Regions from separate parts of the Homo sapiens genome. Here regions 1, 3, 4 and 5 are each linked to region 2. The links are contacts of gene promoters, found by promoter capture Hi-C in blood cells and fetal thymus (Javierre and others, 2016). All regions are on one chromosome and are shown on one strand. The core of a region is centred on a gene start or on the middle of the fragment in contact, and the rest is flanking DNA. Distances in the headings are between cores, read along the strand shown. Region 1 overlaps TPCN1 (two pore segment channel 1). Region 2 holds the start of DTX1 (deltex E3 ubiquitin ligase 1). Region 3 overlaps TPCN1 (two pore segment channel 1). Region 4 holds the start of TPCN1 (two pore segment channel 1). Region 5 overlaps DRC10 (dynein regulatory complex subunit 10).

Region 1 (5,113 bases), core at 2,121-4,620, 200 kb before region 2:
CTCGGCTCACTGCAACCTCCATCTCATGCGATTCTCCTGTCTCAGCCTCCCGAGTAGCTGGGATTACAGGCGCCCACCAACGCCCAGCTAATTTTTTGTATTTTTAGTAGAGACAGGGTTTCACTATGTTGGCCAGGCTGATCTCGAACTCCTGATCTCAAGTGATCTGCAGGCCTTGGCCTCCCAAAGTGCTGGGATTACAGGCATGAGCGACCATGCCTGGCCAAAAATATATTTTTCAAAAAAAAAAAAATTCCTAAAATAGCAAACAGGAAAGCAGCAACAAGTTAAACAGGAATAAAGCTACCGCATTCAGTATGTAAAGAATTCCCTCCTGAGAACGTGGCCTCTCAGTGTGCCCTGAGAAGAGGGAGGGTGGCAGGGAAGGCCGAGTGGCCAGACTCCGGAAATTGTGGGGGTTGGCACAGCCCTAAACAGGGGTCTGAAGACAAGCTGGTGCACAGCAGTTTTCCCCTATGAGCACAGTCAGGTCAGCCCATCTTATGAACCTGAAGCTCACACACGAGCAGCAGCAGCATGAACTGATGCTGGAACTGAATTTCTGGGCACCTAACAGAGTCTTGGCTGCCCCACCCCACCAACAGGTGCAGACAACTGCCAGGGCCTGACTGGAGATACTCACCTGGAGGTAGATTGCTGCCTCTTGGTAATTCATCTCCCAGTTGTGTGCGGGGCTGGAGGGGGAACTCTCACCCCCAGAGCTGAGACTGGGGGCCTGGGAGTCGTGGATGGCATAGCTGCCGCCATCTGCATTGGAAGAGGAGAGAGATTCACTTGGCACCCAGGCTTAAGAGCAAAAAGACACCGTTTGGCAGAAGAAAAGCCTGGCAGTCCCTTCATATGCTCACATGGACATCCCGTCATCTTCAAATCAACCTCCATGCTGTGTACTGATAATGGCAAGAATTAGCACAGCTGGTTACAAATGTTTTCCTTTCTCTTGATAAGTGAAAAAAGCAAGTACAAAAGAGTACAAATAGTATGCTCTCTAATGTGTACAAAAGGGAGGAAACAAGAAAACATAAATACATCGACTTATCTTTACCAAAAGAAACACAGGAAGGAAAAATGAGAAGTCAATGAAATCAGTCGCCCTACAAGGGCTATAAGGAATAGGGTAGACAGACCCTTTTTGAATCCTTTGACTTTTGGAAGCATATTAATATCCTACTTAGTTAAAAATTAAAAACAACTGGATTTGTCCCCTGGTGCAGGGCCATCTGTTGCTCTTCCCTGCTGACAGCCACGCCCTCCTCTCCCAGCAACACTGGGCCATCTGTCTCTGTAGAACATCCCCTCCTTGCTCTCTGTCCACATTGTTTGGCTCTGGCCAACTCCACCCCTGGTTCCCAGGCAGGTGACCTGGGCCTGGCAATAAGCCCCTCATCTCCCTTGGGCATTCAGGCATAGCTGCTGACCCAAGTCCAGCCAGTGACAGCTGAACTTGAAACTGTTCCCAGGCCAATTAGGAAGGAGGGGCTCTTTCCCTGTTGTTGCTGGCGGCTGCCTCTGCCACCACATGGGGAAAACTTGCCTGAGAAGGAAGTCAGCAGACAACAAAACAATAACCAATAGATAACACTAACACCAGCTGCACCTCTGGAATCCAGCTGTGCCTGAAATCTACCCCTTAATTTCCAAAATCCAAGCTGATAAACAGATCCCATTGAGTCTGAGTTGGGTTTGTCACAATAATCCTGAAATTCAGTAGTTTACACACAGTAAACAACGGCACCAAGAAATGACGCATTCATTGGGAAGAAGTGAATCTGAGAGAAATCTGTAAATCTGCATTGTAAATGATCCACCCGAAGGAAGATAAAGAATCTAATGTTTTGGGCTGAGCACGGTGGCTCACGCCTGTAATCCCAGCACTTTGGGAGGCCAAGGTGGACGGATCACCTGAGATCAGGAGTTCAAGACCAGCATGGCCAACATGACAAAACCTCAACTCTACTAAAAATACAAAAAGTAGCCAGGCGTGGTGGAAGGTGCCTGTAATCCCAGCTACTCAGGAGGCTGAGGCATGAGAATCACTTGAACCTGGGAGGCGGAGGTTGCAGTGAGCCAAAATCGCATCACTACTCTAGCCTGGGGGACAGAGCAAGACTCCGTCTCAAAAAAAAAAAAAAAAATCTAATGTTTTGATACTGGGATTTGCACAGTTGGCAGAAAGCAAATGTGTAAGGCTTACAACCATGCAAGGGACAGGAGACTGACAGGGCTCAAAGGCCTGCTGGGTTGCAAAAGGTCCTTCTGATCTTGAATTGCCAGTCATGAGCAATGAGGTCCAGCCACATGCAACTTACTTCCCCAGCTCCCTGCTTTTTTTAAGACACAAGATCTCACTCTGTCACCCAGAATGGAGTACAGCGGCACAAGCATGGCTCATTGCAGTCTTAAACTCTTGAGTTCAAGAGATCCTCCTACTTCAGCCTCCTGAGCAGCTAGGACTACAGGCATGCACCATCACGCCTGGCTAATTTTTGTATTTTTATAGAGGTGGAGTCTCCCTTTGTTGCCCAGGCTGGTCTCGAACTCCTGGAATCAAGCAATTCTTCTGCCTTGGCCTCCCAAAGTGTTGAGATTACAGGTGTGGGCCACTGTGCCCAGCCACTCCACCCTTGTTTTTTCTTTCTTCCTTTTTTTGAGATGGAGTCTCACTCTGTCACCCAGGCTGGAATGCAATGGCGTGATCTCAGCTCACTGTAACCTCTGCTTCCGAGGTTCAAGTGATTCTCCCACCTCAGCCTCCCGAGCAGCTGGGATTACAGGTGCCTAACACCATGCCCAGCTAATTTTTGTATTTTTAGTAGAGACAGGGTTTAGCATGTTGGCCAGGTTGGTCTTAAACTCCTGACCTCAAGTGATCCACCCGCCTGGGCCTCCCAAAGTTCTGGGATTATAGATGTGAGCCATCGTGCCTGGCCAACCCTACCCATTTTTAAAAACAGTTTCGCTAAGTTGTGCCACAATAAACAGTATATATTTTAAGAATACAGTTTGATACATTTTGACCTACGTGCATATCTGTAAAATCATCACAACAATCAAGATAACATATCCATAACCCTCCCGTGCCTCCTTGCCCATCCATGCCCAGGCAACCACTGAGCTGCATTCTGTTACTATTAGATGAATCTGCATCTATTATTACATATAATATATATATTTACATGATGTATTATATAAATGGAATAATACAGTATGTAGTCTTTTTTTTTGCTTGGATTCTTTCACTCAGAATAATTATTTAAAAACTCATCCACATTGCACTGTGTACCAACAGTTCATTCTGTTTCTTTGCTGAGTAATAAATATACCACAGTTTATCCATTCACCTGTTGATGAACAGCTAAGATTGTTTCTAGTTTTGGGTTATTTCAAAGTTGCTATGAACATTCATTCAGGGCTTTGTGTGGATGTACACTTTTTGTTTCTTTTGGTAAAGCTAGAGGTGAAATAGCTAGATCACATGTTTAACTTTTTACAAAACTGCCAAACTGTTTTCCAAAATGATTGTACCATTTTACATTCTCACTAGCAGTATATGAGAGTTCCAGTTCCTCCACATCTCCACCAACTGTTGATATGCTCGCTCTTTTTAAGCATTTTTTTTTTTTTTTGAGACGGTCTCACTCTGTCGCCCAGGCTGGAGTGCAGTGGTGCCATCTCAGCTCACTAAAACCTCCACTTCCTGGGTTCAAGTGATCCTCCTGCCTCAGCCTCCTGAGTAGCTGGGATTACAGGCACGCACCACCATGCCTGGCTAATTTTTAAATATTTTTAGTAGAGACGTTTCACCATGTTGGCCAGGCTGGCCTTGAATTCCGAACCTCAGGTGATCTGCCCGCCTCGGCCTCCCAAAGTGTTGGGATCACAGGCATGGGCTGCTGCGCCTGGCCAACTTTAAGCATTTCAAAAGATGGGTAGTGGTATATCATTGTTTTTCATGTTCATGCTTGAAATTTGCATTTTCCTAACAATAATGTTGCACAACTTTCCATATGTTTATTTACCATCTATCTTCTTTGAAGTGTCCAGATCTTTCACCTTTTTCTTTTTTTTTATTATTAAATTGAGAGCTCTTTTATACACTCTGGATACAAGTCTATCAGATACATGATGATTTGCAAATATTTTCCCATTTGTGGTTTGTCTTCTCATTCTTTTCTAACAGTGCCTTTCAAAGGTCACTAAAACAGAAGTTTTACAAATTTTGATGAAGGCCAACTTATCCATTTATTCTTTTTATGGATTAATACTTTTGATATCATATCTAAGAAATCTTTGCCTAACCCCTGGTCATAAAGATTTCACATCAGGCTAAGGTGGGGAGGATCACTTGAGCCCAAGAGTTCAAGATTAACCTGGGCAACGCAGTGAGATCTTGTCTCTACAAAAAAATTAAAATAAAAAAGATTCCACATCAAGGCACAGTGGTGTAAGCCTGTAGTCCCAGTGCCTAGGAGGCTGAGGTGAGAGGATCACCTTAGCCCAGTAGTTCAAGCCAGCCTGGACAACACAGAAAGACACTGTCTTTAAAAAAGAAAAATAAAAACAAAGATTTCACATCAATACCTCGATGTCTTGGTTACTGAGGCTTTATAAGTCTTAAAATCAGGCAGTGTTAATCCTCCAACTTTGTTCATATTTTTTTCAAAGTTGTTTTGGCTAGCCCAGTTCTTCTGAACTTCCATATAAACTTTAGAATTAGTCAATTTCTTTGTCCCTAATCCAGGAGTCCAAATAAATAAATACATACATACATGCATACCCAGCCTGGGGAATATAGTGAGACCCTACCTCTACAAAAAAAAAAAATTTAAAAAGTAAAAAAATTTGAACTTCCATATGAACTTTAGAATTAGTCAATTTCTTTGTCCCTAATCCAAGAGTCCAATCAATCAATCAATCAATAGAAACCTAGCCTGGGGAATATAGTGAGACCCTATCTCTACAAAAAAAAAATTTTTTTTAAGTAAAAAAATTAGGCAAGCACAGTGGCATGTGCCTATAATCCCAGCACTTTGGGAGGCTGAGGTGGATGGATCGCTTCAGGTCAGGAGTTGAAGACCAGTCTGGGTAACAT
Region 2 (5,159 bases), core at 2,074-4,573:
GACTATTGGAAAGTTCAATCATTGCAGAAACTTATATTGGACTGTGCTAGTTAGAAAGGCTGGCCTCCTTTCTAACTAGCATGGTGTAATAGAACTTTCTGCAACAATGCAATGTTCTGGATCTACACTGGCCCACAAGGTACCACAAGACACATGTGGCTATGAGCACTTGAAGTGTGGCTAGTGAGACTGAAGAACTGGATTTTACATTTTACTTAGTTTTAATTAATGTAAATTTAAGTAGCCACATGTGGTTGGTGGCTAACATATTGGTTGGCACAGCTCTAGAGGGAAAGCGAGCATCCTACCAGCCTGGGGTTATTACGTGTGGTTCTGTCATCCAGGGATTCATAGGAACTTCCCCAAACCCCATCAGCTGGTCCTTGGGGGGTCAAACATGCCAAGGATTTCTAGGCTGCTTCTGCACGGCAGGACCCCACCAGTCCCCACTGCCCATGGAGCTTGTCACAGATACCACCGGGCAATGACTCAGGGAGATCTCCCCAACGATGACAAATCTCCAGAACAAAAGAGAGTAGGCCTGAGAGTGGGACCTCATCGATTTTATCTCCATCATCAGCCATCACATTACCACCAACGCAACCATCAACATCACCATCATTACAACCACAACAGGATCACCAATACCACTAAGTAACAGCCACACACAGGGCTACCAGCCACACCACATGGCCACGAAGACTGCCACCAACATCATTCTCTCATTTTCTCCATCATCACCACCCCATCACACCACTTCCAGCACCACCACCAACACAACTATCAATGTCACCAACACCACTGAATCCCATGGTTAACGCTATCACTGACATCACCACCAACACTGCCACGTCACCATCATCCATCCCTCCATTGTCACCAAGACCCCACCACCATCAATACTATCACTGAGTCACCACCAACACAACCGCTAACACTGTCTCCTCCATCATTGCCACCTCACCCCACCATCAACACCACCAACGCCCCCCATCCCCAATTAATTACCACCAGCACGACTCCACCCCACAAACCAACACTTGGAGCCAGTATAGGATACCAGTTAAGAACTTTGGTTCTGGAACTCAACCGCCTGGGTTTAAATCCCAGCTCTGAGTTTAAATCACTCAGCTTCTGGGAGACTCGGTTTCTTCATCTATAAAATGGGACTCATAATAATACAACAATACACAGACTTACTGCCTGTGATTCTTGGGAAAAATCAAATGAGGAAGTGCATGTAAAGCCCTTATTCTACAATCCCATGCTACTGCTGTTCTAGGTTCTGTGCTCAGTGAGCACAATTTTATTTAATCCTCACTCAGCTGTGAGAGATATTGATCTACCCATTTTGCAGATGAGGAAACTGAGGCTCAGAGAGATGATGCAACTTGCTCAAGGCCCTACAGCTTGCTCAGAGGCTGCATTGGAATCCAAGTCTTAAACTGGACAAGGTTAGACTGCCCTGTTTTTCTGGAGGTGAGGCAGGGAGATGGGGAAGGGATTTGGCATCAGCAGATTTACTGGGATTTTCAGCATCCTACGCTGCAAGGTAGTGATGGCTCGGCGGGGCGGGTGGCATGGGGTGGGTGTCTGCTCACCTGTGTCCTGGCGAAACTGGTGCATGGACTGCAGGTCGATGATGTAGGGCACAAGCTGGGCGTCCACCTGCCCCAGGACCACGGAACCGCGAGCGTCCTCCTTCAGCACGTTCTCAATGTGGTGGCACACGGTGGCCGTGTAGGGCCGCCAGCGGCTGTGCTCATTCAGCCACTCCCACACCACCACCCGGGCCACGTTCTGCGGTGGGAAGCCCAGACCATTCACAGGCATCAGCCCACCGTGGCCTGGCCGTGACATGGCCGCCACTGCCTCAGGGGCCAGGTCCCCCACTATTGCAGGCCCAGCTCCTCCTGGGCCTGGCAGCAGGCGGCAACTTCCTCTCTCCCCAGGGGGACAGCAAGGACCGTCTGGCCTCCTTTCTAACTCTGGGTTCTCTCTGAGGCCTAGAGACCTCCGTTAAAGGAATGTGGGATGGCCATCCAGGCTGCAAAGACCCCTTCCCTGTAGAGCCTTCTCCGATAAAGGGTGCTGCCCTGGAAAGCAAGTGTCTCTCTTATGCCGGAGGAAACAGCTCTAAAGTCCTTGGCCCCCTCGGCTGGCTCAGGTAGGGAGTGAGGCAGCCGCCCCTGTTCGAGGTCCAGCCTCTTCCGTGTTGTCTCTTGGTCCCTCTTCCCCGCCAGACAGGGCCTGTCACCCAGGAGGCCTGGGCCACAGCCTGCTGCTCCTGCGGCTCTCAGCCAGCCCTTTGCACTCCCAACTGCGTCCCAGACCCTGCGCCCGGCTTCAGTGGGGCTTCTCGCCTCCCTCCGGTCTGGGCCCCCTTCTCCGACGGCTCCTGCCGAAGGGGGCGTCCCTGCCCCCTTGTTCCCTCTCCACGGTGTCCTGGAAGGCCTGGGTGGCCGCAGAACGCACGGGGGAGGGGTGCGGCGTGGACCCTCGGGCGGCGCGCCTGGACTGCGGCTCCGGAGCTGGGCTGGGGGACGAGGGGGACGAGGGGGGCGGGGGCCCGTGGGCACGCCCCACCCCACTCGTGCTCGCGACCTGCCAGGAGACAAGAGGGGAGAGGGCCCTTTAAGAGGAGAGCGCAGCACCCCCTCCCCCCTTCCCAGGAGAGCATTCGGCTGAGAACAATGGGGAACCGAAGGGGGACAGCAAGGGGGGCGTACGGGGTCGCCCCGCCCGCTTTCCCTTGGGGCAGGCCTGGAGGGAAGGCAGGGGCCGGGGGCGCGGTTTTCCGAGACTCTCCGCCTGGGGGGCGCCCTCCTTGGCTCCCGGAGCCTTCCCTTCCCCCGGGGCCCTCGCCCTGCCGGGGGGATGCCGGGTGCGCTGGGGTGCGCCGGGAAGCACGGGGATGCGCGGCGCTGCAGGCGCGGCCCAGGGCCCCTCGGGGGTCGCGTCGCGGAGGGGGCGAAGCCAGGAGCTGGATCGTCTCTGCCTCCCGCCCTGGGGGTAACAGCCCCGCTTCCCCAGCCCAGACGTCCCCGAGCCGCTCGCGGGCCCCCAGCGGGAGCCGGGGGTGGGGTCCCTAAGCACCCGCGTTCTCACCGCCTCTCTTCGTCTCCGGCTCCGGCTCCGGCTCGCGCTCCAGCACCGCCGCCTCCTGGGCTCCCCCCGGAGTGGGAGGGAGCCGCGGTCCCGCCTCCGCGCCCGTTCCCTCCCAGGCCCCTCGGCCGCCGCGCCGAGCTTTCCGCGCGTGGACAGACTGCCCGGCCGACGGACGGACGCAGGAGCCGGCTGGCGGCCGCCGGGATCTCGCGGGTGGGAGGAGGCCTCGGCCGTGCTCCGGGAGGGAGAGGGGAGGGGGCGGAGGAGGAGGAAGGGGAGGAGACAGATCTCGGCCCTGAGCGCCACCGGCGCTGACACGCGAGTCTCGGGGCGCCCCAAATCCTCGGCCAGGCCCTCCCGAGACCCCAAGGGGCCTTCTGACCCCAAGCAGAGCGTGAGGCAGGGAGTGGGATGTTTAGGAGTCACCGGCTTGAATCTTTGTCATCTTTATTTCCAGTCTCCCAGTCCAGGGCCTGGCACTGAATAGGTGCTCAATAAATGCTTGAATGAATGAATAAGATCCAGAGACTGTCTAAAGAAAGATCTTGAAGCATTCAGAGCTAGCCTCCTTTCCTCCTCTAACTATTCCTGGGGGTGGGAGGGTGCTGACAAGGCCTGATTCAGACTCAGTTGGAACCGTGGAATCTGAAGAGTACAGATGAGGAGACTGAAGCCAGAGAGAGTAAGAGCCAGGCCCAGGATCACAAAAGCTTAGAGCGATGCCCAGACACCAACCCCGATCTGAATCTCCTGCCAGTACCCAGTTCCCAGCCCTGAGCCCACTTCCCCCAAAGCACCCACCTGCTCCAGGTGAGAGGGGTGGGACCAGGGGAGGGGACCCTGGCCAGGAGGTGAGATCCTGGAGGAAGAGAAGGGCAGGCCCTCTGCCATGTCATTCACAGCCACCTGCAAACAACTGGTGCTCAATAAATGGTGGGTGAGCATTGGTTGGATGGAAGGGAAGGCTGGAAATGGCAGCGGCTCAAGTGTTAACGGGATGGCCAGTCCCCCTGTCCTCCAGCAAGCTGGATGCGGCTGAGACACACATTGGCTGGGAGGGGGGTGGACCACCTGGGGCCTGGGGGTGTTTAGATTGGGGAAGATGAAGGATGCGTCCGGGAACTCCAGCCTGGGTGGCTGACGGGGGTCAGTGGCCTGTTTGGGCGCCTGCCCAGAGCAGCCCACGCCTGCCTCCCCGGGGCAGATGGGGATACACTAGGCAGGGTCAGGGGCAGGCTGCTCAGGGGTGCTTTCCCAGAATCCAGCTCTGGCTCTCCGGCCAGCTGGAGGGACCTCCCCTCCCCAGGCCCCTGCTCTGACCTGCAGCCCAGTGTTGGATGGGCTTTTTCAGATTGGGTCAATGATTCTGCTTGCTTTCACCTGCTGTAGACTAAAGAGAGAGGCTTTGCATAGGGCAGGGCCAAGTCTGACGATACTCCCACAGGATCACTGAGTTCTGGGATTTTAGCCTAGGGTCCCTGGATGGCCTTCTGGGGTCCATGAAGTCCCCCTCTCCCATTACAGGCAAACTTGTGTGTCTAGGCATTGTGTGTCTTGTATGTCTGGGAAGAAGGGCTCTGGCTGTCAGCAGATTCTTCTCACAGGAGACTGTGACTGAACGGATTCAGAGCAGGTGCTCAACCAGCTTATGTTGTAGAAGGATCTGGGGATCCCACAGTGGAGAAGAGATTGGCTCAAGGTCGCATGGTGATTTAGCAGCAAATTGGAAAGAAGAACTCGTGTCTCTGGACTTCCTGTCGAATGCTATTTAAGGTCTGATTAAATGTCACCTCCTCCAGGAAGCCTTTCCTGAATTCACCCCATCTTCCTCTGTGTTCCTTTGCCCATACCTTGACATGACACCCTGTATCACAATTAGCCTCTTAAATGAAATCTGTCCCTGCTAGAGTGAGATAGCCATCATATTCATCTTGGTGTGGTGTGGCTGGTGCCCCATTACATAAGGGTGTCATTTACTGAGTGCCTATTATGTGCCAGGCACTTAAATAATACTTACTACTCTTCATAACTGCCCCACAAGGAAGGTAATG
Region 3 (5,583 bases), core at 352-2,851, 180 kb before region 2:
GCAAGTGCTGAAAGAATTAGGAAAAAAAAATAATAAAATCCCAATCTAACAAAAAGAGAGATAAAAAAGAGAGACAGGCAGTCTACAAATGGTAGGGCGGCGACGGGGAAGCTTAGATGGAAGGAAGGTTGGGATTGGACATGTGTGGGCTCCTGGGGAGTTCGAAGCTGGAAGCAGAGACCCAAACATCCAAAAAGTAGGCTGTTCCTAGGGGCAGCAACGCCATGCCCTGCTGGGCTACTTCTGGTCTGATCACATGTGAATGAGTCTCCTTGTCACCCTCCAGTGGCTCCAGGGGCTGGTTTAGCTGTGACAGTCACCTGGGACCCTGGATGTTTTTGGAAACCGGTGACTCACTCCCAGATATGCAACTTCTATTATGTCTATTATTGTGCCCAGAATATGTGTAGAAGAGACATGATCCCTGCCTTTGCAAAACTTGTACTACCAGAAAGAGGCACAGCTGTGTAAAACATCAGCACCTAAAACAACAGCCATTAACACCCAGGCATTACACTGGGTTAGGCCTCTACCTTCCTGCCCTGCCCTGCCCAGTCATCTCAAACAGGCATCAGGGAGACACAAGAAAGAAACTCACAAACCAGGTAAGCCCTAGCTGGGGGGAGCAGGATTCACAAAACCCTGCTTGATGCTGGATGAACAGAATGGGTATTATTCATACTACGAAAGGATTCTTTGCCAAACTTAGCCCTCCCACCTATATTTTATTTTGAAATATATATGTATATATGTATTTCTAGAGACAGGGTCTTACTCTATGCCCAGGCTCGAGTGCAGTAGTGTGATCATGGCTCACTGCAGTCTCAGACTCCTGGGCTCAAGCAATCCTCATGCCTCAGCCTCTCAAGGAGCTGAGACTACAGGTGTGCACCACCACACCTGGCTAACTTTTTTTAACTTCTTTTTAGAAATGGGGTCTCACTATGTTGTCCAAGCTGGTCTCAAATTCCTGGCCTCAAGTGATCCTCTCGCCTTGGTCTCCCAAAGTGCTAAGATTACAGGGTGAACCACTGCGCCTGGCTCCCACCCGTATTTTAAATTACCTAATTCATCAAAACTCCATTTTCTCACAATCCATCATGGCACAAAGCAAACTCTGATTCAATCATCAAATCGATCACATCCCGGTGCTGGGGAGCGAGTGGGTCTCTGTGCCGTGAAGAGCAGAGAAAGAGGTATAAACAGCATACCTGGAGAATGAGAGACTGTGGAAACACAACCACTATCCTCAAAGGTTAGGGAAGGCTCTCAAGGCCTTCAGCTAAATAAACAGGAAGGGCCAGGAGTGGTGGCTCATGCCTGTAATCTCAGCACTTTGGGAGGCCGAGGCAGGTGGATAGCAAGAGATAGCAAGAATGGCTCTGGGGAAGACTTGGTCATTTAAGGTAGCAAAAAGGACACTCTAATATACAGCTACTGGATTGTTGCCAGGCCAAGGAGCAGGGGTCACACCCACGTGGCACTCACAGGACATATCTGCAAGTCTTCCAAATGCTGCTGAAGCAGGAAGCCACCAAAACTAGGACCCCTAAATCATGTTTTTTAAGGAAAAAAAATAAGCGGCACTGCTGCTGCAGTAACATGATGCTCTCTGCTTGCTTCTACAGCTAAAATATGTGGGCAAAGAGATCAGAATATTTTTAATAATTTGTCATCCAAATACCCAAGCTGTATTCCAAGATGCCAATTCCTCAATACCGGAAGTGTGGCTATGAGGATAGGTTTCTCCACTAAGTGGGAAAGGCAGAACATCAGGGCTTTATCGTGAAGGAGGATGATAAAATGAGAGGTAGGCTGCCATCTGAACAGACTAAGAACTTCCTGATCAACCCAAGATGGGTTGTTCAGGGGACTGTGTCAGTGCACTGGAACAAAGCAGGAACTTATCTGCCGGAAACAGAAGCCACACTTTTTATTCAGGAGAGTGGCCCTGGAACTTCAACGTACTTTCTGATCCTAAGAGCTGGGTGTGGTGGGATTAGGGAGGGCAAAGTGGGAGATATGTGGCAGGGCTGGGCACAGTCAAACATCTTCCTCCCATCAGCTCTGCTTTTCTTTCACTAGCTGCTTCCTCCATGCCCAATACCGCTGGGATGTTTCTCATCAAAGAGCACCCTCCTGGGCCAGACCCCAGGCCAGGTGAGCCTATGAAAGTCCTCATCTGTTCAGCATTGTCCAGATGCTTCCTGAGTGCCTCTTAAGAAGTAGGGACTGGCCAGGCATGGTGGCTCACGCCTGTAATCCCAGCACCTTGGGAGGCCGAGGTGGGCAGATCACTTGAGGTCAGGAGTTTGAGACCAGCCTGGCCAATGTGGTGAAACCCCGTCTCTACTAAAAATACAAAAAAATTAACAGGGTGCGGTGGTGCACACCTGTAATCCCAGCTACTGGGGAGGCTGGGGCACTAGAATTGCTTGAACCCGGAAGGCGGAGGTTGCAGTGAGCCGAGACTGTGCCACTGCACTGCAGCCTGGGCAACAGAGCAAGACTCTAACTCAAGAAAAAAAAAAAAGAAGTAGGAACTGAGCTACTGAGCTGAGCTTCTGGGACCTGGGGAAGTTCAGTGACTGGTCAGGGAGACAGACACAGAGAGAAAAATGCCAAATCCGGCTCCTACTACTGCAGAATAGCCTGGCAGTTTCCTCTCCATCCACCTCTCAATCTCCAGAGGGAAAAGTAACCCCTATTCAGGGCTGACCCACCCCAGGGTTTCTAAGCTCAGGGCTTATCAAGTTGGCTAGAGACAGCATCCCGAGCTGGCAAGATGTCAGCAGGAAGATGCTCTGTCATCACTTGCTTTCTGGCCCAAACACATTTAGCAGCTCCCATGCCCAACTCAACCAGGTCCAAACTCCTGCCATCAGCATTTTAGGCACTCTGTAAAACAGATATGCCTGCTCTGACCCCTGACCCTAATTATAATGGCTGACATCCACCCAATGCTCATTCTGTATAAGCCAGGCACTGTGCTAGTTGTGTGAGGCATGCTATCTTGTATAAACCTCAGAACAGTCCTAAAAGGTAATACTAATATTAGTGTCATTTTACGGATGAGGAAATCAAAGCTTAGAGAGGTTACATCATCTGCCCAAAGTCCCAGCAGGAGAAGTCAGGGCTGGATTCAAACTCAGTGGGTCTGACCCCAGAGTGCATGTAACCACACCCAAATCCAATCTGCCCCCAGCATGCTAGTCTCTGGCCCCGTCCAGGGTGTGGGTCTCAGAAGAGTTCCTACTTCTTTTTTTTTTTTTCTTTTTGAGACAGGGTCTTGCTCTGTCACCCAGGCAGGCTGGAGTGCAGTGACAATCTCGACTCACTGCAACCCCCCTCCTTACTTCAGCCTATGCCATTTCCCCTCCCTGGGATGTTCGGTCCCTCTCCCCAGCACCCCAAACTCCACCTCTTCCTAAGTCACACCTGTCCATAGTTGATCTTCTGCTACTCCCCTGGCTGAGCTGCATGGTGTCCAGCCAAAGGGCTGTACCGTCAGAATTCAACCAGGGGCTACAAACTCAAATGCCTACAGGCACCAGGCAGGTAACAAACATGGGGTGCCGGGGGGTGGGAGACTCAGATGCCAAGCTGTACGTGCACAGCAACTGCTTGGTTATGCAGCCTCTTAAAACACAGTTCAGGCAAAACACAGTAGGCACCCCGTGTCCCTGGGCCACCTCCACACTGCCCGGTCTTGCCATCATTGCCAACTGCTCTTGCCAGGGCAGCATGAATGAATGTTCAGACACTACCCTGAAAAACAATGGTCATTCCCCTGCTTAAAGTGCCCGGGGCTTTTCCGCCACCCCAGGATGAAGGTCCAGCTCCTCTTCAGTATGGCTCTAGGAGTGCAGGCAAGGAGACCCTCAAGATTTGGATCTAACCTTTCTCCCCAACCCTCTGACTCAGATGCCACCCACTCCAGCACATGTATACCTTTCCTCCCCTATTCCTTTCTTCTGGGAGAATCTTTCACTTCCTGTTCATCTCCTTAGACACTCAGCACACTCAAGCTTAATCCGATCTCTAAAGCCAATCTGGATGCTACCCCAACCCCTCACCAAGAGGAAGCACGCCATCTCCTCCTGCCCCCATCTTCCACCTTCTTGGGAAGCCATGTCCACCTCCCCTAAACCCTTCTAGAGTTATACACCACAAAAGCAGCATGTTCTATACTCATCTCACTGCCAACCAGACCAAGCTGTAACTATACTTGACGCACTTCTTCTAACTTCCAGGGCAGCTGTTCTAAGTCCTAAATGTGCGGCCATTTTAGTAACTCGACTTAGTTTTTCAGTTGACAAGAAAGTGACGATTTAAGGAAAAAAGAAGACCAGCTATTAAATCACTTTTTTCTTTTTTTTTTTTTTAAACCACTACTTTTAAAAAAACTTCTAATGCTCACTTGAATCTTTATTACACATTTCAAAGTCAAAGCTAACAACAATAAAAAAAGGTTACAGCCCAAATCAAATCACTTTTAAAAAACAGTAGCGGTCTAAAGTTGCATAGGATGAAGATAAGAACGGAGAATGTAGAATGAGCACTCCATAGACTCATGTGAACCATAACAAAGAAGGAAAGAATCACCAGGAAAGAATGATGCAGGGTTTCCTGGGAGATGCGCCCACCTGCTCTGGCTTCAAATCTCCCTTTGCCTGGCCTGGCTTGACACCTCCACCCTCCAGCCCCAGCTTTGATCCCAAAGCCAAATGAAATCTGGTCTTTCTTTGGGCAAAGCATTTAGTGGCAAAGAGGAGACTGCCTGACCTGTTCTGATTCCCACTGGAAGCCACTGGAAGAGGAAGATAACCTCAAGGGCCATGGAGAGTTTGTTGTTGGTTTTGTACTCTTTTCCTTAATTTGAAGTAGTCTGCTCTGAACAGAAAACAAAGGGTGAATCGGTATGTTCTACGTCAGAGAGAGCAGGGGCAGCCTACTGACCAGATTTCACTATACATTGAAGACATATATGAATTGGTTGCCACTATTTACAAATCAAAAGACTTTTGATTAAAAATATAGGTTCTAATTTCTTTTGAAAAACTGGCAAATGTGCTAGCAATCAGCCTGTGATCCTACACGACAATGATTAGCCAGAATAAATCACAGTTGTCCCTTCAGAGAGTGCACACTGGCCCCAGTATGCCCCTGGTCCGGCAGGCCCCAGGGTGGCCCAGCTCTCAAATTTTTTGCTACAATCTTGTACCTCCTCTGAGCCAGAGCCTCATGACTGGGGTAGGGAAAGAACTGCACTTTTTACAAGGAGATAAATATCTCCAACAAAAAGCAAACAAGGCGTAAAGGGTACCCGGTACAAAAGGCAACACAAGCACCAATGGTCCCAATTTAGTTATCTGGCTCAGTCCAGGGACTTCTACCAGGCAAGTCCTGATAAGGGGTCACCTGCCACTGGGAGTCAACAACCTCAGAGGATCACTGCCCTCAGCAAGCCCACCTGGCCTTGAGAGTCTAACCTCATGCCCCGCTCCAAACTGCTCCTCTTCATCCTTCCTTTCCCAGGCCCAAATCTTGGCTCCTGAGAACTCCCATTTTCCGCCCAAATTT
Region 4 (5,378 bases), core at 1,906-4,405, 160 kb before region 2:
CAAGACCATCCTGGCTAACATGGTGAAACCCCGTCTCTACTAAAAATACAAAAAATTAGCCGGGCGTGGTGGCAGACGCCTGTAGTCCCAGCTGCTCAGGAGGTTGAGGCAGGAGAAAGGCGTGAACCCGGGAGGCGGAGCTTGCAGTGAGCCGAGATTGCACCACTGCACTCCAGCCTGGGCGACAGAGCGAGACTCGTCTCAAAATAGTAATAATAATAATAGTTAATACTCAATGAGTGCGTACTATGTATGAGGGACCCTACTAGCACTTCATAAGTAAAAGTTAACTGAAAATTCTTAATAGCCCCATGAGATAGGCAGGCTTATTATCCCCCCATTACAGGATGGGTGTGGTGGGTATTTCAGGCACAGACAGATTACGTATCCTGCCCAAGGACCCACAGCTAAATAAAAGCCAAGCTTTCAGCTCTACGGTGTGACTCCAAACCTGTATTCCCAGCCATTACACTATAATTCCTCAAAGTCTGGGCCATGTATTTAGGCAGCACCTAGCTTCAATCATCAATATATACTTGCTCATATATACAGATTTAAAATACATCTTTCACTTCAGCTTTACCATGCAGCCTCTCAGAACAGTTAGAAACATACTTCCAAAATGTATGATTTTTATATCATTTTTATATAGGAGTTGTTCTCTTAGATTTAGGTGTCCGAGGAAGGGGAAAAGAGTATTTTTTTTTAACTGGTGAGTATTTTTTAATACAGTAAAAGTGCTCATCCTTAACTCCCAATTTAAAACACTCAGAGCAGCCGGGAGTGGTGGCTCATGCCTGTAATCCCAACATTTTGAGAGGCCGAGGCAGGTGGATCGCTTGAGGTCAGGAGTTTGAGACCAGCCTGGCCAACATGGCGAAACCTGGTCTCTACTAAAAATACAAAAATTAGCCAGGTGTGGTGGTGCATGCCTGTAATCCCAGCTACTGGGGAGCCTGAAGCAGGAGAATCACTTGAACCCAGGAGGCAGAGGTTGCAGTGAACTGAGATCACGCCACTACACTCCAGCCTGGGCGACAGAGCGAGACTCCATCTCAAAAAATAAATAAACTAAAAATTTAAAAATAACTAAATAAGTAAAACACTCCGAGCTAGCCTGTTACAGCTCCTATTTATGCACATTCCCGTTTCCGCTGAGAAGAACCAAAAAAAAAAAAAAAAAGACTCAGCAGATCTGACTGCAGACCTTTGAACTTGCAAACAGCAGCAGGTTCCTTCCTCAAGCTGTGGGCTCTGGGCTCAACCCACTTTGCCTCCCAACTGACCTAGTCAATGGCAGCTGAGCAACTGACTTCTTCCTCGAATCATTGGAACAACTCCAAGCAAATCCTTGTGCATCCACAGGGAACAGTACAACGTTTTGAAACAAGGCAGCGAAAGTAAACATCATTCTACTTGCTGCTAAGCCCGTAGCTCTCTGCCCAGCACACTTCCTGTGAGTTTTTTTTTCTTAAGTTTCCTCCAGATCTGGGGATTTATTTTGCTTTTAAATCTCAGCAGTGGAAAGGCAGAAGAGGAAATCCCAGATGAGACACTACTATTTGGCAGTCTTAAGAATTATGGTTGTATTGTCGTTTTGGTTTAACTTTTTACCACAGATATTTTCAAACATTCTCAAAAGTGCAGAGAATATATACGTGAACTTCCTTGTATCCATTACTCAGCTTTGACAATTATCTCCCATGTTTACTTTGAAGGCAGGAGAATTTATTAACTCACAGAGAAGAGGTTTCTTAATGTTACCATTATCATAATGGCTAGTGGTTTCTATGTTTTAACTCACGGCTGTCCAACCTTTTGGCTTCCCTGGGCCACGCTGGAAGAACTATCTTGGGCCACACATAAAATACACTACCATTAATGATGAGCTAAAAAAAAAGAGGCAGGGGGGTTGTTCATGCATAATTTTCATGATATCTGCCACCATAGATTAAAGTCCTCGCATTCAAATGCTTCAACACGGTTGTTTAACTGTTTAATATATGACTGCTTGCCTGCCTGTACTGCCTTTGCCCACTGGCTTTCAACTGGGGTGATTTTTGCCCCCATGGGGACATCGGCAATGTCTGGAGACATCTTGACTGTCACAACTTGGGAGTGGGGGGATTGCTGGTGGGTGGAGTCCAGGTATGCCACTGAACTTGCTTCAATGCACAGGTGAGACCTCCCGAAACAGAATTATGTGGCTCAAAATGTCAACTGAGCTGCTGTTGAAAAATCCTATCTTAGCTAATATCCCCACTTTAGGAATGAGGAAATTGAAGCTTGGAGTGGTTAACTTGCCTTTTATAAGTTTCAACCCAGGCAGTCTGAATCAGGGACCCTGCCTGCTTAACCATTACCCTATATACACCTACGACTAGAACCAGTCCCCTGATTTGAATTCAAACACGTCATTTTTCCAGACAGACAAAAATGAGGCCCAGAGAGGGGAAGAGACTTGCCCAAGGTCACACAGTGGAGGAGTAGGGCTAGAACCCGGGACTCCTGCGTCCTGGTCCAGTGTTCCCTCCGCGGGCTTTGCTTCTGCCTCTACAGAGGACCCAACTGGCCAGCGCTGGGGAAAGGGCCTAGGGGAAGAGGTTCAGCTACCATCCCGCTGTCCGCTGGGGCAGCCTGACCCAGGCACAAGACTCCTGTGGGGTCACCTAAGGGCGCCAGGGAGAAGAGCGAGGGAGGGAGGAAGAAGGAGGCAGGACAGCTGGCTCCAGCTCCACGTGCTCCCAGCCCCTGGCTGGGAGCCCACGTGAGGGTCGCCCTAAGAAGTCGGGGGCGAGGAGAGAGGGTGCAAAGCCCCGGCCCGGGCTGGACGGAGAGAAGCGCGGTGGAGACTTCCCTGCGCCCCCTCTGGGCCCGTACGGCCCACCTCCCACACCAGAGTGCTGCGCCGCAACCCCTTACTCCGCGTCCTCTGACCCCTGATCCCTGCCCTCTCCCTCGGGCCAAGCCGTCGCATCCCTCGGATTCTTACACGCGCCGCCCCAGCAACCCGGACCGCGCGCCGGGGTCCGCACCGCGCAGCCTAGCCCGCCGGCGCCGCCGCCAAAACCCCGAGCCCGAAGCTGTTGCAGCCGCCGCAGCCGCCGAAGCCGCCGCCACTTCAGCCACTGCCACCAGGGCAGCTGCGCCAGCTCTCCTATCCACCGCCTACCGTCCTCTCAACCCCGCTGGCCCCGCCCCATTTCCCCTTCACAGCGTCCTACTGGCTAACTGGGCTACCGTGATGAACTCTGATTGGCCAACTATCACGTCCTTCCGCAGGTCTCGCCCGCCGCCGATGCGGTACTCCCTGCCCGCCTCCTTAAGAAGGGGCGGGACGAAGAATCCACGCCCCTTACTCCTCCCTTGTTCCCCGCCTTACTCGTTGAGTCCAACCCAGAGGGAGTCCCAAGTCTTTCCATTGGTGAAAGGTCAAAATGGCGGTGCTTCTGATTGGTCAGACTTCAGGAGGTGGGGACAACTGAGCGGAACAATAAATTGAATGGTGAAAAGAAAGGTCAGTCAGACACCGAGTCTCGCCTTCTGAGATTGGCGGGTAACCTAGCAACGCAGGGACCGCGGCGGTAACTGTGGCTAGGGAAACCTGGAGCGGTCAGAGCAGGTGAGTAGCCAGTTGGGAAAGGGTCGCGGATCGGGGGAGATGTGGAATAGGGTTCAGCCCTCTGTCCTTTGGCTCCCTGAGGAATTAGAAGCCCCCGCTGCGATCTCGTCTCAGCTTCAGGACCCTGTCCCTCAGCTCCTGCCTTAGTCTGGACCTTTCGCTCCACAACCTGCAGGGAGCCGGCCTCCATTCTGCCCTTCTACCTGCCCACTTCATGGCTCCACTCCCTCATCCCTAAAACGAGGAGGACAACAGTCAAGCAGAGTCATATCGTAGTTAACTTATTTCAAGTCAAACATGGGAGCTGTGGGTGGGAGGGGAGTTTATAAGTCCCCTCCCATTTCACCCAACGGCCATACGTTCCTCGGTGAGCAGGCAATCTCACTTCAGTGTTTAAATTAGGTAGTTTTGTTTGTTTGTTTTGTTGTTGTTGTTGTTGTTTTTGCCGAGCATGGTGGCTCACGCCTGTAATCCCAGCACTTTGGGAGGCCGAGGCGGGCAGATCACTTGAGGTCAGGAGTTCTAGGCCAGCCTAGCCAGTATGGTGAAACCCCATCTCTACTGAAAATACAAAAATTAGCTGAGCATGGAGGCGCACCTGTAATCCCAACTACTCGGGAGGCTAAGGCACGAGAATCACTTGAACCCGGGAGACTTAGGTTGCAGTAAGCCAAGATAGCGCCATTGCACTCCAGCCCGGGCAACAGAGCAAGACTCTGTCTCAAATAAATAAATAAATTAGGTAATTTTTATTACACCACTTTTGCCTTTATCCTAACTTTGGAATTTAACTCCCATCTCCATCCTTAAGATGTGATCTCATTGTACCTACTGAAGACAGAGAGTTTCTTGTGATGATTAAATGAGGCTAAGGGCCGGGCGCGGTGGCTCAGCCTGTAATCCCAGCACTTTGGGAGGCCGAGGCCAGCAGATCACCTGGGCCAGCAGATCACCTGAGGCCAGGAGTTTGCGACTAGCCTGGCCAACATGGTGAAACCCTGTCTCTACTAAAAATACAAAAATTAGCCGGGCCTGGTGGCGTGTGCCTGTGATCCCAGCTACTCAGGAGGCTGAGCGGGAGAATTTCTTGAACCCGGGTGGTGGAGGTTGCAGCGAGCCGAGATCGTGCCACTGCACTCCAGTCTGGGTGATAGAGCGAGACTCCAGCTCAAAAAATAAATAAATAAATAAATAAATAAATAAGGCTGAGGTGGGAGAATTGCTTGATCGCAAGAGGCGGAGGTTGCGGTGAGCCATGATTGCACTACTGCACTCCAGCCTGGGCGACAGAGCGAAAAACCCTGTCTCAAAAAAATATATAAAAAAAAAACTTTGAGGTTCAAAAGATATTTTCATAAGAAAATGAAAAGATCAGCCACAGACACAGACATGGAGGAAATATTTGCAAATCATGTGTCATAAAAGAGTTGTATATAGAATATAAAAATAACTCTTATAACTCAATAAGAGGACAACTCAATTTTTTTAATGGGCAAAAGAGTTGAGTAGACATTTAAAAATCAAAAAGACAATACCAAGTATCATCATGTAGATAAATAAACAAACTGTAGCTTTCATATGTTGCCGGTAGGTACAGCAGAATACCAATTGGTACCACCAATCTGAAATATAGTTGGCAGTTTCTTAAAAAGTTAAACATAGGCCAGGCACAGTGGCTCGTGCCTGTAATCCCAGCACTGTAGGAGGCACAGGCAGGTGGATCACCTGAGGTCAGGAGTTCGAGACCAGCCTGGCC
Region 5 (5,264 bases), core at 2,765-5,264, 140 kb before region 2:
GCGCTGTGATGTGTGCCTATAGTCCCAGCTACTTGGGAGGCTGAGGCAGGAGGATCACTTTAGCCCAGGAGTTTGGAGGCTGCAGTGAACTATAACTGTGCCACTGCATTCCAGCCAGGTCAACAGAGTGAAACCTTGCCTCTTAAAAAAAAAAACCCAAAACCTTCATTTGCCTTCTCCTTCATCATCTCAGCCAAGACCCAGGCCTAGCACACACCCAACTTCCAAATCTCTTTCCTTGTAAAAGGCACCCTTTTTAATACTTGTCTCCAGTCTCTTAGTGTCACACTCTTGAGCATCTGATGGAAGCCACGGGCCTCTCCCCCAGAAAGAAGGCACAGATGCACTTACACATCCTAGTGGACAGTTCCCTGGGGAGCCCAGTCCCCCTGAAGCCGGCCTACCCATGGTGCCCAAGCTAAGGGCTCTTGCTCTGTAGGATTAGGGGGTTTATTTATTTATTTATTTATTTATTTATGTTTGAGACAGGGTCTCACTCTGTCACCCATGCCAGAGTGCAGTGGCGTGATCATAGCTCACTTCAGCCTCCAACTCCTGGGCTCAAGTGATCCTCCCATCTCAGCCCTCATGGGTCGCTGGGGCATGTCACCACGTCTGGCTAATTACAAATTATTATTATTGGCTGGGAGCAGTGGCTCACGCCTGTAATCCCAGCACTTTGGGAGGCTGAGGCAGACGGATCTCCTGAGGTCAGGAGTTCGAGACCAGCCTGGCCAATGTGGTGAAACCCTGTCTCTACTAAAAATACAAAATTAGCCGGGCGTGGTGGCATGCACCTGTAATCCCAGCTACTTGGGAGGCTGAGGCATGAGAATTGCTTGAACTCAGGAGGCGGGGGTTGCGGTGAACCGAGATCACACCACTGCACTCCAGCCTGGGTGACAGAGCGAAACTCCATCTCAAAAGAAAAAAAAAAAGTATCATTTTTTGTGGAGACAGGGTTTTGCTCTGTTGCCCAGGCTGATCTAGAACTTGTGGCCTCAAGCAATTCTCCCATTCCCACCGTGGCCTCCCAAATGGTTGGGATGAGCCACTGGCCCAGCCTGCTTATTTTTAATTTAGGTGAAACTTACATAACATAAAACCATTTTAAAATGAGCAATTCAGTGGCATTTAGTATATTCACGATGTTGTGCCACCCCCACTTCCACCACTTCTATCTAGTTCCAAAACATTATCACCTCAAAATAAAACTCCATATCCATTAAGAAGTTACTCCCCATTCCCTTATTCCCCCTGTCCCTGGCAATCACTAATGTGCTTTCTGTCTCTGTGGATTCACCTATTCTAGACACTTCATATGAATGGAATCTTCTGTGGCCGTTGTGTCTGGCATGTTTTACTTAGCACTGTGTTTTCAAGGTTCACCCATGTTGTAGCATGGATCAGTGCTTCACTGCTTTTTATGGTGGAAATAATCTTTTAAAAACAAGATTAGATCATGTCCCTCCACTGCATCTAAATCACCCAGTGGCTTCACCTCACCCTTTCCTGAGAATACAGCCTCCTCTTGCTGACACTCCCTCTGTGACACAGCCTTTTCCTTGGACCTTGTTGGGGACCACTTTCCTCCTCGCCACTCCCTTCCAGTCACACTGGCTTGATTTCTGTCCTTTAATTTTTTTTTTAATTTTTATTTTTTGAGACAGTCTTGCTCTGTCACCCAGGCTGGAGTGTGGTGGCATGATCTCAGCTCACTGCAAACTCTGCCTCCTGGGTTCAAGTGATTCTCCTGCCTCAGCCTCCTGAGTAGCTGAGATTACAGGTGTGCATCACCATGCCTGGCTAATTTTTGTATCTTTAGTAGAGATGGGGTTTTGGCATGTTGGCCAGGCTGGTCTCAAACTCCTGGCCTCAAGTGACCCGCCTGCCTCAGCCTCCCAAAGCGCTGGGATTACAGGCGTAAGCCACCACGCCAGGCTGATTTCTGTCCTTTAAACAGCACAAGCTTGTTCCTACCTCAGGGCCTTTGCACCTGCTGCTTTCTCTGCCTAGGATGTCCTGGAACCAGGCTGCTGGCATCAAATTCAGGCTCTGCCACCCATTAGCTCTGTCACCTTGGGCAAGTAAGATAGCATGTCTGAGCCTCAGTTCTCTCCCCTGTGAAATGGAGAAAAGGGAACCTCCTTGTTCAATAGGCGAGGCATGTCAAGCACCTGCCAGAGCCTAGTGATGCAGAGAGTGCTCAGTGCTGTTGATTGTTAATATATTCCATCAAACAATGACAAATTGGATCTTTTCTAGAAGAAATATAAAGTGGAAACGGAAATCGAGAACTGGATCCAGAAATATGATACAGAGATGGGTGAGAAGCAGGTATTTGTCGCTGAATAAGTCTCTCTCGCATGCTTTTCCCAAGACCTTCTAGGAATGGGATGAATGGGAAAAGTAGCCTTGGGATGGTCCATGGAGTGGGCAAACTTCTGAGCCTCTCTGCAGGGAGCACTTCCCTTTGTTTAAAGGGTTTGTCCAGCCTGGGGCAGAGTGAGAGGTGGGAAAGAAAAGAGCCAGAAGCTGCAAGGCCAGGTGCTGTGGCTCATGCCTGTAATCCCAGCACGTTGGGAGGCTGAGGTGGGAGGATCGCTTGAGCTCAGTAATTCAAGACCGGCCTGGGCAACAGAGCAAGACTCCATCTCTATTAATTTAAAAAAAAAAAAAAAAAAAAAGCGACTGGCTAGAAGGGCCTGACACTCTGACACTGGGCCTAATGATCATGGCTCCATCTAGTGTCCACATCCCATACTCCTCTGGATGGGCTCCTGCCAGCACCCCTACAAGGTGGGGCTCCTTCCCACAGACTCAGATGGGAGCCTGCCTCCACTGCATCACTCAGTCACTCAGCCAGTTTTTATTGAGCACCTGAGATGTGCCAGCTGTGTGGCCTTAAGCAAGGTACTTGACCTTCCCAAGCCCGTTTCTGCATCTGATTAGCAAAGGCAGTAATTCCCATTTTGGGACCATGGCGGGGATTCGGTGAGACACCATGGCTGCAAGTGTGTGTGCCCAGCACAGGGTCTGGCCTGGAGGGAAGTGCTCAGGGGGTGGTAACCTTCAAATCGAGACACGCCCAAACCCTTCACCCAGCACTGGGATAACATTGGTGGCCCATGGCTCCAACCCAGGGGCCAGGGAGGACTGGGGAGCACTGGAGAGCACTGGAGGTAATATGCGCTGGAGTGAGCCAAAGCCAGGTGTGCTCTTCAGAGAAGGGCAAGTCAGAACCTTGTCCTGGGCAACCATCAGGGCCTGGAGAGGGGAGCTTTGCAGGCGGGGGCTCTCATTTCTCTGGGTCCCATGAGGGTTGTGGGTTGGTTGCGGGCAGGGACTTTGTCCACCCAGCTCTGTGTCCTCTGGCAGTGCTCTGCTTTTTGTAGATGCTGGGAAAACATCAGTGGAAGGAAGGAAAACGGGTGTAAATGACAGCAGGAGAGGCTATGGTTAGACATAAGGAAGAACTCTGGGACTCCGTTTGAGGCCTGAGAAAGTTCCTTCTCCTCTGGTGTCTTGTGGAACAGACTGCTTTCATGGCAGCAGCCTCCATTTCTTGTGTCCCCACTGTGTGCCTGGCATCATGTCCAGTACATTGTGTCCATCGGGTCATTTAATCCTAGAAACAGCCCCTGGCTTCGGAATCGTCCCCATGTTTCAGATGAGGAAAAACGAAGGCCCGAAAGGTGAAGTCAGTTGAGGTGTGGCAGAGCTGGGACTTAAAACTAAGTCTGCCCAACTCACAAGCCCATGTTCTTTTCCTGTTCCTGAAATTATTTCAGTTGGGTCCTTCCTAGAGCTAGGATGGAGCCCATCCCCTCTCCCCATCCATGTCACTGGGACCGAGAGATGCTGAACAGCTTAGCTTAGGGGCATCGCTGGGGCAGAAGACCATTTGGGAAGGGTAAGGGGGCCTCAGGGAGGAGGGTGGGAGGAGGCACTCTATGTGTGGTGACCCCAGCCCCACCCCTCACCCCAGGAGGAGTTGGAGGATCTGGACGCTGTTCACAGGGAGGAGAAGATCTCGCTGGAGGAGCTCAGGCGGAGGCACAAAGTGCTGGTGGGAGAGTTTGCGCAGATCCGGGAAGAGCGGGAGATCAACTCCAAGAAAAGGATGGAGGCAGAGCAGGAGATGGTGCGCATGGTACGGGCGGCCACGCTCATCCAGGCCCTATGGAAGGGCTATCTGGTGCGCTCCCTGCTCAGATCCAAGAAGAAGCGGGGCAAGGGCAAAGCAAAGGACAAGGAGAAGGGCAAGCAGAAAGGCAAGGAGAAGGGCAAGGGCAAGAAATGAGCTCTCCACCCAGCCCGCTCCTGACCCTTATCTTCCCAGAGACCAGGCCAGGAAGGCCCGAGATGGAGAGCACTAAATTCACGGCTTTCATGTTTTTATTTAATAAATTAAAAAGTATTTGAAGCCACATTGAAGGGAACGCTCTACGAATAAATCTCTTTACCCAGGGCTGTGGGCTGTGTGTGTCCAGCTCACAGATGGTGTTTCCATGAGGAGCGTGCAGCCTGGGGTGTCAGCCCAGAGATTATGGTTCCTTACTTCAGCCTTAGTGGGAAACCAGACCCCAGCTGCAGCCCGGAAGCTGCCATGGCCATGATGGACACATCACTCACCAGGGCAGCGGGGTGTGGGTCACAGCTGCCCATAGGGGGCAAAGAAGCAGGCAGGGAACTCCAGGAGGAGCGGGGCCTCAGGTTTCAGGCTGCCCCTAACCCTGTTCTGGGATTAATTTGCTTGCAACTTCCCCTGCTCTAGCACTGTGAAAGCTCAGAGGGAGTCCTGAGGTCACAGCAGCCCTCAGCCTCACATTCCAGGGAGCTGAACAATTATTTAAAACAACTTTTTTTTTTTAAAGTAAAAAATTTTTAGGCCAGGAGTGGTTACTCACACCTCTAATCGCAGCACTTTGGGAGGCTGAGGCAGGCAGATCACTTGAGCTCAGGAGTTTGAGACCAGCTTGGGAAACATGGCAAAACCCCATGTTTTATTTTTTGTCTCTACAAAAAATTAAAAAATTAGCCAGGCATGGTGGCACACGGCAGTAGTCCCAGCTACTTGGGAGGCTGAGGTAGGAGGATCACTGGAGTCTGGGAGGGTCGAGATTGCAGCGAGCTGAGATTGTGCCACTGCACTCCAGCCTGAGTGACACAGGAAGACCCTGTCTCAAAAAAAAAAAAAAAAAAAAAAAAGGGTAGGTAGAGACAGGGTCTCACTATGTTGCCCAGGCTGGTCTTGAACTCCT

The links. Contacts are between HindIII fragments. The CHiCAGO score rates a contact against its expected background, and 5 or more counts as called.
Region 1: a fragment that was not itself captured here is called in contact with the fragment with the promoter of DTX1 in region 2 in 1 of 17 cell types (non-activated CD4 T cells); the score reaches 6.4 in non-activated CD4 T cells.
Region 3: a contact is called between a fragment that was not itself captured here and the fragment with the promoter of DTX1 in region 2, in 7 of 17 cell types (naive B cells, total B cells, activated CD4 T cells and 4 more). The highest score is 9.2, in naive B cells.
Region 4: a contact is called between the fragment with the promoter of TPCN1 here and the fragment with the promoter of DTX1 in region 2, in 1 of 17 cell types (naive CD4 T cells). The highest score is 6.1, in naive CD4 T cells.
Region 5: a fragment that was not itself captured here is called in contact with the fragment with the promoter of DTX1 in region 2 in 4 of 17 cell types (naive B cells, naive CD4 T cells, naive CD8 T cells and 1 more); the score reaches 5.9 in naive B cells.

What each region holds. Positions count from the first base shown.
Region 1 is chr12:113,256,023-113,261,135 of GRCh38, reverse strand. It overlaps TPCN1 (two pore segment channel 1), which reads right to left. Exons shown (of 28, transcript NM_017901.6): 3 at 644-768. Among named protein-coding and RNA genes, the nearest start is that of MIR6762, 33 kb to the left of the region's middle. RefSeq lists an enhancer at 4,196-4,365. The HindIII fragment of the contact is 7,288 bases long and covers 1-5,113 here.
Region 2 is chr12:113,054,894-113,060,052 of GRCh38, reverse strand. It overlaps DTX1 (deltex E3 ubiquitin ligase 1), which reads right to left and starts at 3,323. Exons shown (of 10, transcript NM_004416.3): 1 at 3,109-3,323; 2 at 1,602-2,604. The coding sequence starts at 1,860. RefSeq lists an enhancer at 1,297-2,085. The HindIII fragment of the contact is 5,893 bases long and covers 1-3,820 here.
Region 3 is chr12:113,234,310-113,239,892 of GRCh38, reverse strand. The region is part of intron 2 of TPCN1 (two pore segment channel 1); the gene reads right to left. Among named protein-coding and RNA genes, the nearest start is that of TPCN1, 16 kb to the right of the region's middle. The HindIII fragment of the contact is 2,975 bases long and covers 114-3,088 here.
Region 4 is chr12:113,219,241-113,224,618 of GRCh38, reverse strand. It overlaps TPCN1 (two pore segment channel 1), which reads right to left and starts at 3,155. Exons shown (of 28, transcript NM_017901.6): 1 at 2,993-3,155. DRC10 (dynein regulatory complex subunit 10) reads left to right here and starts at 3,525. Exons shown (of 5, transcript NM_001330452.2): 1 at 3,525-3,622. RefSeq lists enhancers at 277-446, 3,777-3,926 and a silencer at 1,161-1,455. The HindIII fragment of the contact is 6,265 bases long and covers 2,288-5,378 here.
Region 5 is chr12:113,194,614-113,199,877 of GRCh38, reverse strand. It overlaps DRC10 (dynein regulatory complex subunit 10), which reads left to right. Exons shown (of 5, transcript NM_001330452.2): 4 at 2,266-2,337; 5 at 3,989-4,432. The coding sequence ends at 4,303. Among named protein-coding and RNA genes, the nearest start is that of RITA1, 12 kb to the right of the region's middle. The HindIII fragment of the contact is 4,086 bases long and covers 1,972-5,264 here.